Linked DNA regions of Homo sapiens: region 1 is linked to region 2. The links are contacts of gene promoters, found by promoter capture Hi-C in blood cells and fetal thymus (Javierre and others, 2016). All regions are on one chromosome and are shown on one strand. The core of a region is centred on a gene start or on the middle of the fragment in contact, and the rest is flanking DNA. Distances in the headings are between cores, read along the strand shown. Region 1 overlaps SFPQ (splicing factor proline and glutamine rich). Region 2 holds the start of ZMYM6 (zinc finger MYM-type containing 6).

The links. The method cuts DNA at HindIII sites, captures the fragments that hold promoters and counts their contacts. A CHiCAGO score of 5 or more calls a contact.
Region 1: a contact is called between a fragment that was not itself captured here and the fragment with the promoter of ZMYM6 in region 2, in 1 of 17 cell types (M2 macrophages). The highest score is 6.3, in M2 macrophages.

The regions. Positions count from the first base shown.
Region 1 is chr1:35,180,201-35,187,300 of GRCh38, reverse strand. It overlaps SFPQ (splicing factor proline and glutamine rich), which reads left to right. Exons shown (of 10, transcript NM_005066.3): 8 at 50-98; 9 at 179-300; 10 at 2,708-4,365. The coding sequence ends at 2,845. Among named protein-coding and RNA genes, the nearest start is that of SFPQ, 9.4 kb to the left of the region's middle. The HindIII fragment of the contact is 2,849 bases long and covers 725-3,573 here.
Region 2 is chr1:35,030,610-35,037,376 of GRCh38, reverse strand. ZMYM6 (zinc finger MYM-type containing 6) reads left to right here and starts at 5,432. Exons shown (of 16, transcript NM_007167.4): 1 at 5,432-5,562; 2 at 6,664-6,767. The coding sequence starts at 6,738. LOC124903990 (a long non-coding RNA gene) reads right to left here and starts at 4,657. Exons shown (of 2, transcript XR_007065739.1): 1 at 4,220-4,657; 2 at 407-571. RefSeq lists enhancers at 5,243-5,422, 5,079-5,603, 5,604-6,130 and a silencer at 5,593-5,712. The HindIII fragment of the contact is 24,078 bases long and covers 1-6,767 here.

The DNA.
Region 1 (7,100 bases), core at 900-3,399, 150 kb before region 2:
TTGCTGTGGGTATAGTGCAGGTATATTGAAAGGAATTTTTTTCTTGCAGCGGGAAAGAGACATGCGAATGGGTGGCGGAGGAGCAATGAACATGGGAGGTAAGTGTGAAATTTAAATTAATGATATAAGTAGAGAGTAGTATCCTGGTGGAGTTGTAACCACTATTTTTGTTTTCTAGATCCCTATGGTTCAGGAGGCCAGAAATTTCCACCTCTAGGAGGTGGTGGTGGCATAGGTTATGAAGCTAATCCTGGCGTTCCACCAGCAACCATGAGTGGTTCCATGATGGGAAGTGACATGGTAATGTATCCTGTGGGACGTAGTACCAAGGAAATTCTCATTTTCACAACTTAGGTGTGTTTGTTTTGTTTTGTTTTGTTTTTTTAAGTAGGTGACTGGACCTCTTTTAGTTTCCCCTACCAATTTCATACATAAATATGTAATATTGAGGAATACTTTGGCAACATAGAAGAACTCGGTGTGTGGTAACCTAAACAGATAACGGTTGCCAACAAGGAGTCAATGCTGTTAGTATTATGTGGAATTACCTTTGGCAATAAGTAGATTTAGGTGCTTTTGAACTCTAGTGCATGGCAAATCCAAATTCTAGATGCTAGATAATGTATCTGATTATTCTACATCCAAGTGAGAATAATCAAATGGCAAACTCATTCTTTAAGCTGGTATTTGCCATAAGTAGGAATCAGACTTGTAGTTTGAAGCTTTAGGCACGTTTTAGTGATGTGTAGGACTTTGACCTATATTTGGTGTGGCTTCTATCCTATGAAAAGGGAATTGAGTGTTTTGACTCGTCGTTTCCCACCTGTTGGGCCTGTCTGTAGGTATACCTTCTAAAATCAACTGACATCTCCATTTTGCTACAGAGTAGCAAAAATCAACAATTTTTAAGCATACTAATGGTGTGCATTTGATCTGAACCTTCTTGATGCTATCATGTTTCAGCTGTGAATATAGCCTGTCAGATGCTTAGAACAATCAGTTGAACTGGTATGAGTGGCTGCATTAGGGCTTTACAAATCGTTAGGACTGAATTTTGGTGGGTTTAGAGAGTGCATTTTTATAGCTGAGTTGAATGTGATGAGTTCACTACAGGCTTTTGGCAAAGGAGGGGAGCTGCAGTGAGTAGCTCATAAGATTCATTTTATAAATAGAAACATAAGGATTTTGTATAAGGCCTCACCTGTTTATAATCTACCTAAGACTTTTTGGGAATTAAAGTTAGAATTATAAATGGCTGGTTGGGTAAAATGTAATACTATGGGCTTTCTTTAGATTTTTCAGAGTATGTGGGTAACATTTTGGTTTATATTCTTCCTAAAGACAGATTGTTAGGTAATGTGTAAAATCTAATTTGACCTTATGTTCTCACAATTAAAGGTTTATATTCTAGATAACAGGTAGCTGATAGCTCCTGGGTTCTCAGCTGGTGTAATTAACATAATTATGAAAGCCCCAACTTTTTCTTTTTTTTAAGTTCTTAGAGGTAGAACACAGAACAATGAGCCAAAAACCCTGTAATTTATAAGATTTTGAAAAACAAAGGATAAAAGTTTAGTCATGTTGAGTAGCTCAATAGTATTTTGTTTAAAAGAATGTTGAAATTGTGTATAGGAACAGTTAAACCCTGATGCCCTTTTAGTTTTTTATTTGGAGTAATACTCTTAGTAACTGGTCTATTATAAATGGAATGAGAAAAAGTGTAGGCTGCTGTGTTTGCATACCTGAGGGGTCTGCTATTTAGGCACATATGTTTCTATTGAAAACTTCTATCTCCAGAATTACCTAAAACTAGATGGGAATAGTGAAGTCACTCACTGCTTTATTGCAGTTACTTTAGCTTCGTGTTTCACTGTTCGGGAAGTGTCTAAAACATGGAATTACAGCAAAGTGTCTGCACTTTTCAAAGACCTAAGGGAAAAGATGGACTGATGAAGGTGGGTGGGGTTTGTTCATTTAGTTTGCAACAATATAGAATAGTACTGAGAACGTAATTGTCTCTGGTTATATAGTGATGGCTCGGAAGGTAGTGTGCCTGTGAGAATTTGGCAACATAAGTTTTTTTGATCAAGTTACTGTGCCGGTTAAGTGACTAAATCTATAGTCTTATGCTTTTTCTTTTTGTAGTCTGGTAGCATTTTATTAAAACTTTCAACCTTTTAAGATTTCTGCAACTTAGCAGATGTGTCTTAAGATCTTGAAAAGCACAAGGTTTCTTAAGCAGCACATGCCACTAACTGGTGAGTAGGTCTTTGTCACTTCATTGAGTGAATTGAATCTCTGGTTGGGCTTGTTAGGCTTACTTGGAAATTAAATTTCCGTTCAGACGTTGAAAGTGAGAGTTTGCAAGTTTTTCAGTGGGTTAATCTGATGTGAAATTTCTTAGAACTCATTTTGGAATGGATTTTCACATCTGCACTAATTCTTAAATTTTTTAGCACTACAGGGAAGATCTGTTCTTTGAAACAGGTGTATGAGAATGGCTCAAGTGGGAACATACCACAAGGCATGTATTACCGTAAACTAATTTTCAAATTACCCTTTTTTCCTTTCTATGTTCCCGGTACCTGTGGATCGACTCATTGGTGATTGTATCGACGAACGTTGACTACGGAACCTTCTAAAATATTTACTTAACACACATGGACATCAACTACTTATAATGAACTGTTAATTACTGTTCCAATAGCGTACTGAGCGCTTTGGGCAGGGAGGTGCGGGGCCTGTGGGTGGACAGGGTCCTAGAGGAATGGGGCCTGGAACTCCAGCAGGATATGGTAGAGGGAGAGAAGAGTACGAAGGCCCAAACAAAAAACCCCGATTTTAGATGTGATATTTAGGCTTTCATTCCAGTTTGTTTTGTTTTTTTGTTTAGATACCAATCTTTTAAATTCTTGCATTTTAGTAAGAAAGCTATCTTTTTATGGATGTTAGCAGTTTATTGACCTAATATTTGTAAATGGTCTGTTTGGGCAGGTAAAATTATGTAATGCAGTGTTTGGAACAGGAGAATTTTTTTTTCCTTTTTATTTCTTTATTTTTTCTTTTTTACTGTATAATGTCCCTCAAGTTTATGGCAGTGTACCTTGTGCCACTGAATTTCCAAAGTGTACCAATTTTTTTTTTTTTACTGTGCTTCAAATAAATAGAAAAATAGTTATAATATTGATCTTCAACTTTGCCATTCATGCTTCTATGCATATTAGGCTACGTATTCCACATTGAAAGCATGAGAGTGTCTAGGCCTTTGAATGGCATATGCCATTTCTGGGAAATGCATCTGGAGGCTAAGTATTGCTTTCTACAAATAATTGCCCCCTTTGTTTTAAAAAGAAGAAATGCATATTGAAGTAGTTTGATGATTTGTTTGGCATATAGGAAGCACGCTGGTGCTAAGTATTTTTTAAATGGTTATGTAAGCAAAGCTGAACTGTAAATCTTCAGGAATATGTATTAAGATTGTGGAATGGGTGTAAGACAATTGGTAGGGGGTGAAAGTGGGTTTGATTAAATGGATCTTTTATGGCCCTATGATCTATCCTTTACTTGAAAGCTTTTGAAAAGTGGAAAGGTCATTTTGTTGCATTTCCCCATTTCTTGTTTTTAAAAGACCAACAAATCTCAAGCCCTATAAATGGCTTGTATTGAACTTTTACATTTGAATTAAAGATGTTAAACATGAAGTCTTTTCATGTATTCAAGTGATTTATAAAGATGGGGTGTAGTCTAAAAAACAAAACTTGAAAGTAAGAAGGTTTAGTAACTGGGCCGGGCGCGGTGGCTCACGCCTGTAATCCCAGCACTTTGGGAGGCTGAGGTGGGCAAATCATGAGATCAGGAGTTCAAGACCAGCCTGGCCAACATGGTGAAACCCCGTCTCTACTAAAAATACAAAAAATTAGCTGGGCGTGGTGGCAGGCGCCTGTAATCCCAGCTACTCGGGAGGCTGAGCCAGGAGAATTGCTTGAACCTGGAGATGGAGGTTGCAGTGAGCTGAGACTGCCACTGCACTCCAGCCTGGACAACAGAGCGAGACTCTGTCTCAAAAAAAAAAAAAGGTTTAGTACTGAAGTAGGTTTAGTTATATATACATTTGTACTCTGTAACTTTTACATCTCCTTGTGCTACTTCTGTTGGGCAAAATCTATAGGACTATAAAAATCTATTGGTTCTCTTCTAAGAGCTAGTGGTGATTGTTAACAAATAGGGTTGCAGATAATCATTCTTATTGTAAATTTAACTTGTTTTCACATAGTTTCGTTTTCATGTAGCACTAAATCTGGAGAAAGTTGCTCATGCTACACAGTACAAATATCCCTTCCTCCCACCATAAAGGCTTGGAATGTTTCCATGGTGTTGTCAGTTAATTGTCAACTTCATTGAACCCCCTTCCATTAGAACAAGAGACTTTGACTATTAAAGTAGATTGTTTATTGTTGCCTGTTAGTATAATGGGAGCCTGATTTCCCAGTGTAAATATGTTAGAGGAACAGCTTCCTAACAGTAGGTAAAGTAATTGAATGGTTTGGCTTTGTTCTGAGTTACGTTCCATTCAAATCTGTACATTGTAGAATTCTTACTATGGAATGTGTCTTCCTCCTTTTCACCTCTTTTCTTGGTGCTAATTGGCAAAAGAAAAATTCTAAGTCAAACCTTTATTAACATGCTGAAGTTTAGTATTGTGCCTGTGTACAAAAGGAGACCTATTGTTGGAACAATCTGAGCACTTTCTGCATAGGAAACAGGATAATGCTGAAAGTAAACACTAGTGTATAAAAGCATCTCACCAAATACTGGTTGTATGACTGACAGGTACATGGTGTGCTAAGGGAGAGAATCTCATTAGAAAGTAATGCTCATTATATCATTCACCAGCACACTCGGAAATATGAGTAGTTTTACCATGATTATATCAGTGAGGAAGTTTTGTCCCCAAACAGGTTATTAATTGGTGATACATAAGAGATTTTCTGTACGGAAACAAGGGTCTTGATTAGAAAGGAATCCATTACAGTTTGGTTGAATTATATAGTAGGGACTCTACTAAAGACAAGAAAATAAGGGGTGTTCCATGGGACACCCACAGAGGGTGAACTTTGAATGTGTGTGGGTGGGGGCTGGTCGGGAAATGGGAAAATCTGCCTATAAAATTAATGTTTCAGTTTATTTTTCAGATTACATGCCTTTCTTTATAAGGGATGCTGGCACAGACCCCCTAAAATAAGCTTTTGGTAGTACTGTACCTTTGAAGAGTGGTGAAGGATGCTAATGGATAATCTCCTGAAAGTTGTGGCTTTTGATACCCTTACTGTGGACTGTAGAGTTGCTAAACGTTGTTTAGCAAATAATGTTGCTTAGTTTCAAATGACATTTGACTTTCATCACTAAAACAGCAATGTACTCAGGGTTGTAAGCTTACTCAAATAGACTTTCAATAAGTCTTCAATGTATATATGATAGTTTTTAGCCTAATGTGAATTTAAATAATCTTAATAGTTTCCTAAAAGTCGATCTGAAACTTGGGGTGGGAAAGGGGAGGTAGCAATTTTTGAAGTATTTTAGCCATTTTTTTCATTTAAAGAAACCACTTGTCCCCATTTCCTCTTCTCCACTTTCTCATAATTTTGTTTTAAGAGGAACACTGGTTGTTTTTTATACTTCTCCTAATCTTTAAAAACTGCATATTGTTAAGACCCCAGTGTATTTAATAGGTATTTTATAAGCATAGCCCATTGGCTCATGTTAGTGAAACCATAATCCTCTTTGCTTAGAACATTAAACTCATAAGAAGTACTACAAACCCCACCACTCTTTATAGATGTATTGTACCACTAATATAAACAGCTAAAAAATGGGGAAATTGTAATGTTACGCCTGTGCAATTTTTAAGTGGCATATTATGGCAGATTAAAATTTAGATACTTGGCTTTTCTTGGGCAAGCCACTAAGTTGTGGCGGAATGTTTTCTGGTGTTCTTGGACTGCAATTATGCACTATTAAAGTAGTGGCCTGCTACATAACTGCATTTAGCCAGCATTTCTGCAGTGCGTAACTGTGAGGAACGTAGTACCGCAAATGGCAATGGACATTAGGACCCGGATGTAGTATTCCTGCTTGCTCCAAGATTCTCATTGCCGACTGCATACAGGTAGGTAACAAGCAATATAATCTAACTTGGTGACTTGTATGTACTTTTATTCCGTGGGCATTCTGGCATCACATTTCTGACAATGAAATTACAGTGCAGCACCTAACACTTGTATGGTAAAGCTAGCTTACATCAAAACTGTGTGGGTGTGGGGTTAGAGCTGTAATTTGTCAGGCAGAATTCAGTGCTGTTGCAGTTCTCAGATAAAAAGTGCAAACTTGATTCTTTGGTATATCTGACTCAGTTGTGTGGTTTCCTTTAGTTGCATTGTAACTGAAGATAACATGGAACACATCAGTGGTGTGGGGGAGAGGGAACTAAACTATACTTGGGAACTAGGGTGCTTTTAGCACCTTGACATGGACCGTATAGCATGTGATAATTAGTCTCTATTGTAGCAAACTGACCTGCCCATAGATCGGCAATATCAGTAATTTCATTATGCAATCTTGGTAATTCTACAAGTTGAGTTGAACTAAAAGTACAGGTTTTTTTGTAATGCGATTTAAAATTTTTAAAAACATGGGCTTCATGAAAACACCATTGTTACTAACTTGGGCTTAGATGGGAATCTAATGTGAATAGTTCAAGTTATGGGACTTGTCTAAATGTGTCTATACTCTAAACCTGGGGGAAGGTGGTGTGGAACATTGACTTGACTACAGTCGAATACATGTTGGGAATCATTCCCAATCATAAGACATCGTCGTTTCTGTAGGATGACTGCATATGTTCAGAGTAGCTTTTTGAATTTGGTTCCCTTAGCTTTAGGGATGTGATGTTATAGTCCAAAATGTTTACAAGAAAACCTAAGTCTTCAAAAGCACAACTTTTGTTGCTTAGGACTTTGCATCAACTGTTGTTCCAGACCTCACTTCAACTTCTTGGTCTCTGAACTGGTTTTAGCTAGCATGCATGAGAGACAGTTTTCATG
Region 2 (6,767 bases), core at 4,183-6,682:
TTTTAGTTATGGCAGTATCCCATTTCTAGATATCAGTTCTCTAACAGTTATCTACAAAGGGGTGTTTTGTTATATAACAACAGATGCTGTAATCATCTAGTAATCTGGAGGATATAAGATGGCTTCACTCATATGTATGGGGCCTTGGTGCTGGCCATGGGGTCACTCTCCATATGTGACTTCTCATCAGTCAGCAGTTATCCCATTTAACTTTGACATGGTGGTAGGAGTGTTCTATGACAGCGTAAGCAGAAGCCCCAAGGACAATAGAGGCCTATGCTTAGGAACTCATATGGTATCACTTCTATAACATTTTGTCAGTCAAAATAATTCACAAGCCCAGTCAAGAAACAACAGGTAGGAAAAAAGACTATGTATTAGTCAGGGTTTTCCAGAGAAACAGAACTAATAGGATACGAAGATTTATTATTATGAAGAATTGGCTCACATGATATGGAGGCGAAGAAGTCCCACAATCTGCTGTCTGCAAGCTGGAGACCCAGGGAAACCAGTGGTGTAATTCAATTTGAGTCTAAAGGTCTGAGAAGCAGGGGAGCTGATGGTATAAATCCTAGTACGAGGGCAGGAGAAGATAAGAGGGGATGTTTCAGCTCAGACAGTGAGGCAGGAAAAAAAAAAAAAGAGCGAGAGAGAGGGCAAATTCCTCCTTCCTCCACCTTTTGTTCTATTCTGGCCTGGCCTTCAGTGGATTGGATAATGCTTTTCTATATTGGGAGGACATTCTATTTTACTGAGCCTACAGATTCAAGTTGACACATGAAATTAACTATCACAGACTCCCTCTCTCTCTCTTTGTTTTTAAATCTGCCATCTGCACACTAAAGACTCCTCTTGATGGGAAAAGTTGTAACAACTTTATGGCCATATTTAACCTTCCACAGGTAACTACAAACATCTTAAAGTAAATATAATATTCAATAATTTTATGTTGAAAGCAACATAACAGGAAGATATAGATGCCCAATATCACCATTTCCATTCAACATATTACTACAGGTTTTAGCCACTGCAATAGGCAAGAAAAAGAAATAAGTTATATAATTGGAAAGAAATAAAATGGTCATTATTCTCTACATAGCTGGAAACAGAAAGTAAGAAAAATGGCTAGACTATTAGAATTAATTAGTTTAATTAATAATTCAGCAAGGGTGCTAGCTTCAAGACCAACATACAAAAATAATTGTATTTCTATATTTACACTGAAAACAATTAGAAAATAAAAATTTACATTTAAAATGACATGAAATATTAAATGCCTAGAATAAATCTAACAAAGAGGTGTGCAATATCTACACTTAAAAACTATAAAGCATCAAGATAAATTACAGACACCAAAATAAATGGAGGAATATATCATTTTTATGGATTGAAAGATTCAACCCCACAGAATGCTGTTATTAGTTTCCTAAGGCTGCTTTAATAAAGTACCACAAACTAGGTTTAAAAAAAACAAACAGAATTTATATCACCATTCTTGGGGCTAGAAGTCTAAAATTAAAGATCGGTAGGGTCATGCTTTCTCTGAAACCTATATGGGAGAATCTTTCCTTGCCTCTCTTAGCTTTTGGTGTTATCAACAATCCTTAGCATTCCTTGGCTTGCAACTGCAGTACTTCAATCTCTGTTTCCATCATCGCATGGGGTTCTCCTCCAATGTGTATGTCTTCATATCTTCTCCTCTCTTAAGGACACCAGTCATAATGGATGAAGCGCCCACCTTCCTTCAGTGTGGCCTCATCTTAACTAATTACATCTGCAACAATCCTATATGACTAAATAAGGTCCCATTCTAAGGGTTAGGACTTCAACATATCTTTTTAGGTGACACAATTCAACATAATGAATAACAAATACCAATTCTCCAAAACAGGCATACCACTTCAGTATAATACTAAACAAAATCCCAATGGATTCTAAAATTTGTAAGGAAAGTTTTGTCACAACTGACAAGCTGATTCAAAAATTTACATGAAGATGCAAAGGACCAAGGAAAGCCAAGATAATCTTGAAGGACATAATAGGAGGGAGGACTTTTTCTATCATATACTAAGATTTATTATAAAGCTATTACAGAAATTAAGACAGTATGGTATTTCCACAAGGAGAAACAAAAGGAACAGCCTTCATAGTCCTGAAATAAACCCACACATATATAGACAACTGATACATGACAAAGGTGTCAATGCAGAACAGTGGGGAAAAGGACAGTCTTTTTAAAAAATAGTGCTTAATCCATGCAAAATTCACATGGAAAGGTTGAAATCTGACTTACCTTACACTATACACATAACCCAACCACAGATGGATTATAAAACTAAATGTGAAAGACTAATAACACTTCTAGAAATTTTCTTCATTTGGTAGGAAAATATTTCTTAAGAGAATACAATAAGCACTAAGCACAAAGGGTTTTTTTGTTGTTGTTGTTTGTTTGTTTTTTGGATGGAGTCTTGCTCTGTCACCCAGGCTGGAGTGCAGTGGCATGACCTCAGCTCATTGCAACCTTCGCTTCCTGGTTCACGTGATTCTCCTGCTTCAGCCTCCCGAGCAGCTGGGACTATAAGTGCACACCACCATACCCGGCTAATTTTTTTTTTTTTTCCTGAGGCAGAGTCTTGCTCTGCCACCCAGGCTGCAGTGCAGTGGTGCGATCTTGGCTCACTGCAACCCCTGCCTCTGGGGTTCAAGTGATTCCCCTGCCTCAGCCTCCCTAGTAGCTAGGATTACAGGTGCCCACCATGCCCAGCTAATTTTTGTATTTTTAGTAGAGACAGGGTTTCCTCATGTTGGCCAGGCTGGTCTCAAACCCCTGGCCTCAAGAGTTCCGCCCGCCTCAGCCTCCCAAAGTGCTGCTATTATAGGCATGAGCCACTGTACCCGGCCACAAAGGTCTTTTAAGTTCATCAAAAGACACCAATAACAGAGTGAAAAGGCAAGCTACCGAGTGGGAGAAGATATTTGCAATATATACAGTAGTCCCTCCCTTATCCATGAGGATATGTTCGAAGATGTTCCACAGATGCCTGAAACCTCCAGTAGTATCAAACCCTATATATGCTATGTTTTTTCCTATACATACATACCTATGATAAAGTTTAATTTATAAATCAGGCACAGAAAGAGACTAACAACTAACAATAGAACAATTATAACAATAGACTTTAATGAAAGTTGTTTAAAACTTATGAATTATTTGTTACTGGAATTTTCCATTTAATATTTTCAGACCGTGGTTGAGTGTGGGTAACTACGACTTCAGAAAGCAAAACCGTGGATGAGGGGGGCTAGTGTATATTCAAAAAAGACTTATCTTAGTGTATTCCTGATTGCCAAAAGAAAATGCCACAGACTGTGTAATTTATAAATAGTAGAAATTTATTTCTCACAGTTCTGGAGGTTGGCAAGTCCAAGATCAAGGCACTGGCAGATTTGTTGTCTTGGAATTACTCTCTAATTCCAAGATGAAACTTTGTTGTTGTCCTCTTGCTGGGAGGAACATTGTTATCATACAGTGAGGGGTTAAAAGGGCAAAAGGAATGAATCTTTGTGAAGGGCATGAATGCCCTCTTTTGTAAGGGCATGAATCCCATTCATGAGGATGGAGTCCTCATAGCCTAACCCCTCCCAAAGGCTCCACTTCTTATACCATCGCCTTAATGTTTAAGTTCCAATATATGAATTTTGAAGGGACACATACATTCAAACCATAGCAGGATTCATATCTAAAATATATGCCCATAAGAAAATGTCAATCCAATACAAAAATGAGCAAGAGACTTGAACAGGCACTTATGGGGGATATCCAGATACCCAAGGAACAAGAAAATGGGCTCATCCTCATTAATAATCTGGGAAATGCAAATTAAAACCACAGTGAGATACCACTATGCCCCCATCAGAATGGTTATAATTAAAAAGATATGCAGCAGTAATTATTGGCAAGGATGTTGGGAAACTGAAACTCTCATACATGGCTGAAGGGAGTATAAACTGAAACCACCATTTTCTAAAATTGCCTGAGATTATCTACCTAAATTTTACATATACATAACAAGCAATTTCACTTTTAGGTATGAACCCAACAGAAATGTGTGCATATGTATCACTGTTAAATAAAACTTGTAGGCCATTGTTTCGGGCTAAGCTCCTGCAGTAGGTCTCAATGAACCAGACTAAAAATCAAAATGGAGTCACTCACACTGAGGTTCCATGTCATCAAATGGAAACTACGTTGTTATTTGAAGTTCTGAAAAGTCAGGAAAAAGAGATAATAAGAGTCTAATTTCCCCTGAGTGCCAGTTTCAATTAGCATAATAATGAAATTTCTTCTGCTTTAATCGTTACCAAAAAAAGATAAACTGAAGTTACCTGATGTTAACCAATCAGTTATTTCTCTATTGTTTTGTTTCTTGGTTCTGCTTTACAAGGAAATTAACTTATTTATTTATTTTTTGGAAAGTTACTTTGAAATGAACCAATCTGTTTTTTGTTCTTTACTTCTGCTTTCTCCAGCCCTTCTCTGTCTATAAAACCTACCTCTTCTGCTCAGCTCATTGGAACACTTGTTCTATTTTATGGAATGAAGTGCTGCCAGATTCTAGAATCACAAATAAAGCTAATTGAGATATTTAAATTAAATTTGTTGTAATTTTGTCTTTTAACATCACCAATGACAAGAATGTTCACAGAAGCATTATTCCTAATAGCCACAAATTGGAAACAACTCAAATGTCCATCAGTAGTAGATGATTAAAATTGTATCATATTCATAAAATAGAATACTATACAGCAGTCAAAATGAATGAACAGTCACAAATCATACACGTATCTGTGAAACAATGTTGAATTAAAAAAACCAAATCTCAATTTTGAGCAAGTTTTTTCATTTATATCTCAAGAGATTAAAAAATTATACCTCTTAGGGTTAAATGGTGAGGATTAAGTGGGATGGTGCATGTGAAGTGCTCAGCAAGCCAAGTATTATTTAATATCATGCTCTCTCAGTAGGCCACCTTTCAGGAAATGGGCACTAAAGGATGCTACAGATTAGCTAGGTGTGGTGGCACGTGCCTGTAAGCCCAGCTACTCGGGAGGCTGAGGCAGGAGAATCGCTTCAACCCAGGAGGCGGAGGTTGCAGTTAGCCGAGATTGTGCCACTGCACCCCAGCCTGGGCAACACAGTGATACTCTGTCTCCAAAAAAAAAAAAAAAAAAAAAAAAAAAAAAAAAAAAAAAAAAGAATGCTATAGAGCACTTACAGCGCCTTCTAACGCCATCTCCACCTTTTCACTATTGAGCCTCGGTCTCTTTAAGAAGTGAACCATAATTGAGGAAAGAGGAATGCTGGGAAGTTCTACTCAGCTCAGGTCCGGAGCCTGACGGGAAAAGAGGGCGGAGACCAAGGCTGCGCAGGCGTGGTTGGCCGGTCGTTGCGTTGGGATGGATCAGGCGGAATTCCAGAAGAGAAAATAATCCCTGTCTAGATGCAGAGGACTTGGTTCCTATTCCAGTGCTCCTCCGGTAGCAGGGAGGCGACAGAAGGTGGGTGCGGCCGCAGTGGTAGTGGGCGGGACGGCGGGGCGGAGGCCACACCACGTGACGAGGCGTTGCGGCGGGGGCGGTGCCAGGTGGGCTACGCGGCTGGGGCGGCTGCGGATATCGCCTTAGGGACGCGTTGACATTCACTGGCTAGTCCACCGCTCTCAGTCGGAGACCACATTGCCTCGTTAGTCCTCAATGATGGGAGTGGGAATTCTTGGTGGGAAGGAGAATTTCGGAAAGCGTGCGGTTCTCAGAGGAGGGATGAGCGCCCGTAGATATTTTGTGGCGAGTGCGCAAAAGTTCTCATTTCTTCTTTGGAACAGGCTTTTCAACCAGTTGTCCGTTTCCATCCCGGACTATTCGGATAAAGACAACTTTGAAGAGCTTTTTGTTTTAGGTTTAATTCGTCCCGTTTAGTTCTTTGACTTTTAGGGGAAGGGAATTTACTGAATGGCCAATTGAGTTTCTTTTCTACAGGAAGGCGATTGTGAAGCGGGGCTCTGAGGGGCTTGATGCCCCCCACCCCTCACACGGAGACCTTGAAAGAGGCAGGTGACTCACTTTCAGTAAGGGCGTTCCTGTTGTTCGCCTGCGATGGATGGCATCTTGAGCTCACATCTAGCGTTAGGCCGAGAAATGGGGCCCTTAGGGAGGCTTCCAGTGAAGGTTGAGTTATAGGTCAGGGCCGGGAGGTTGTTGTGCCCCTCTTTGAGAAATAAAAGCCGACGTGGGCCTCTAAGTACTGATTCTTATGGGGTCAGAAACTATTTCTTGAGTCCGTTCTTCTCAGAGTTTATTACTTCCTCCCACGTCTTGGTCTGCTGGTCTAATTCCCTTCAATAACCTTCAACATAGGAAAAAACCAGAGTGTGTTGTGTGTCTTTAAAGATATTAGAGAAGTGGGAGCTGTTGCCCCAAAACTGTTTTCTTATGTAGCTACTGAAGGAACAGAAAGCAGGAAGAAAGAAAAAAGTTAGTTGTGGCCCCAGAAGAGTTGTTTTTCAAATGCCGAGCCGTGAAGCCTCATGCACTCAACACAAAGTTTTTCTTTCATATAGATAAGCCTGAAGAAAAAAGAATAAGCCTGAGTATGTATTTTAGGTGTCCAACTATCCATTACCAAGAAGAAATCTATTCGTTTGAGCCTGAGACACTCTTTGAGGTAAAAAATTAGAATGAAAGAACCTTTGGATGGTGAATGTGGC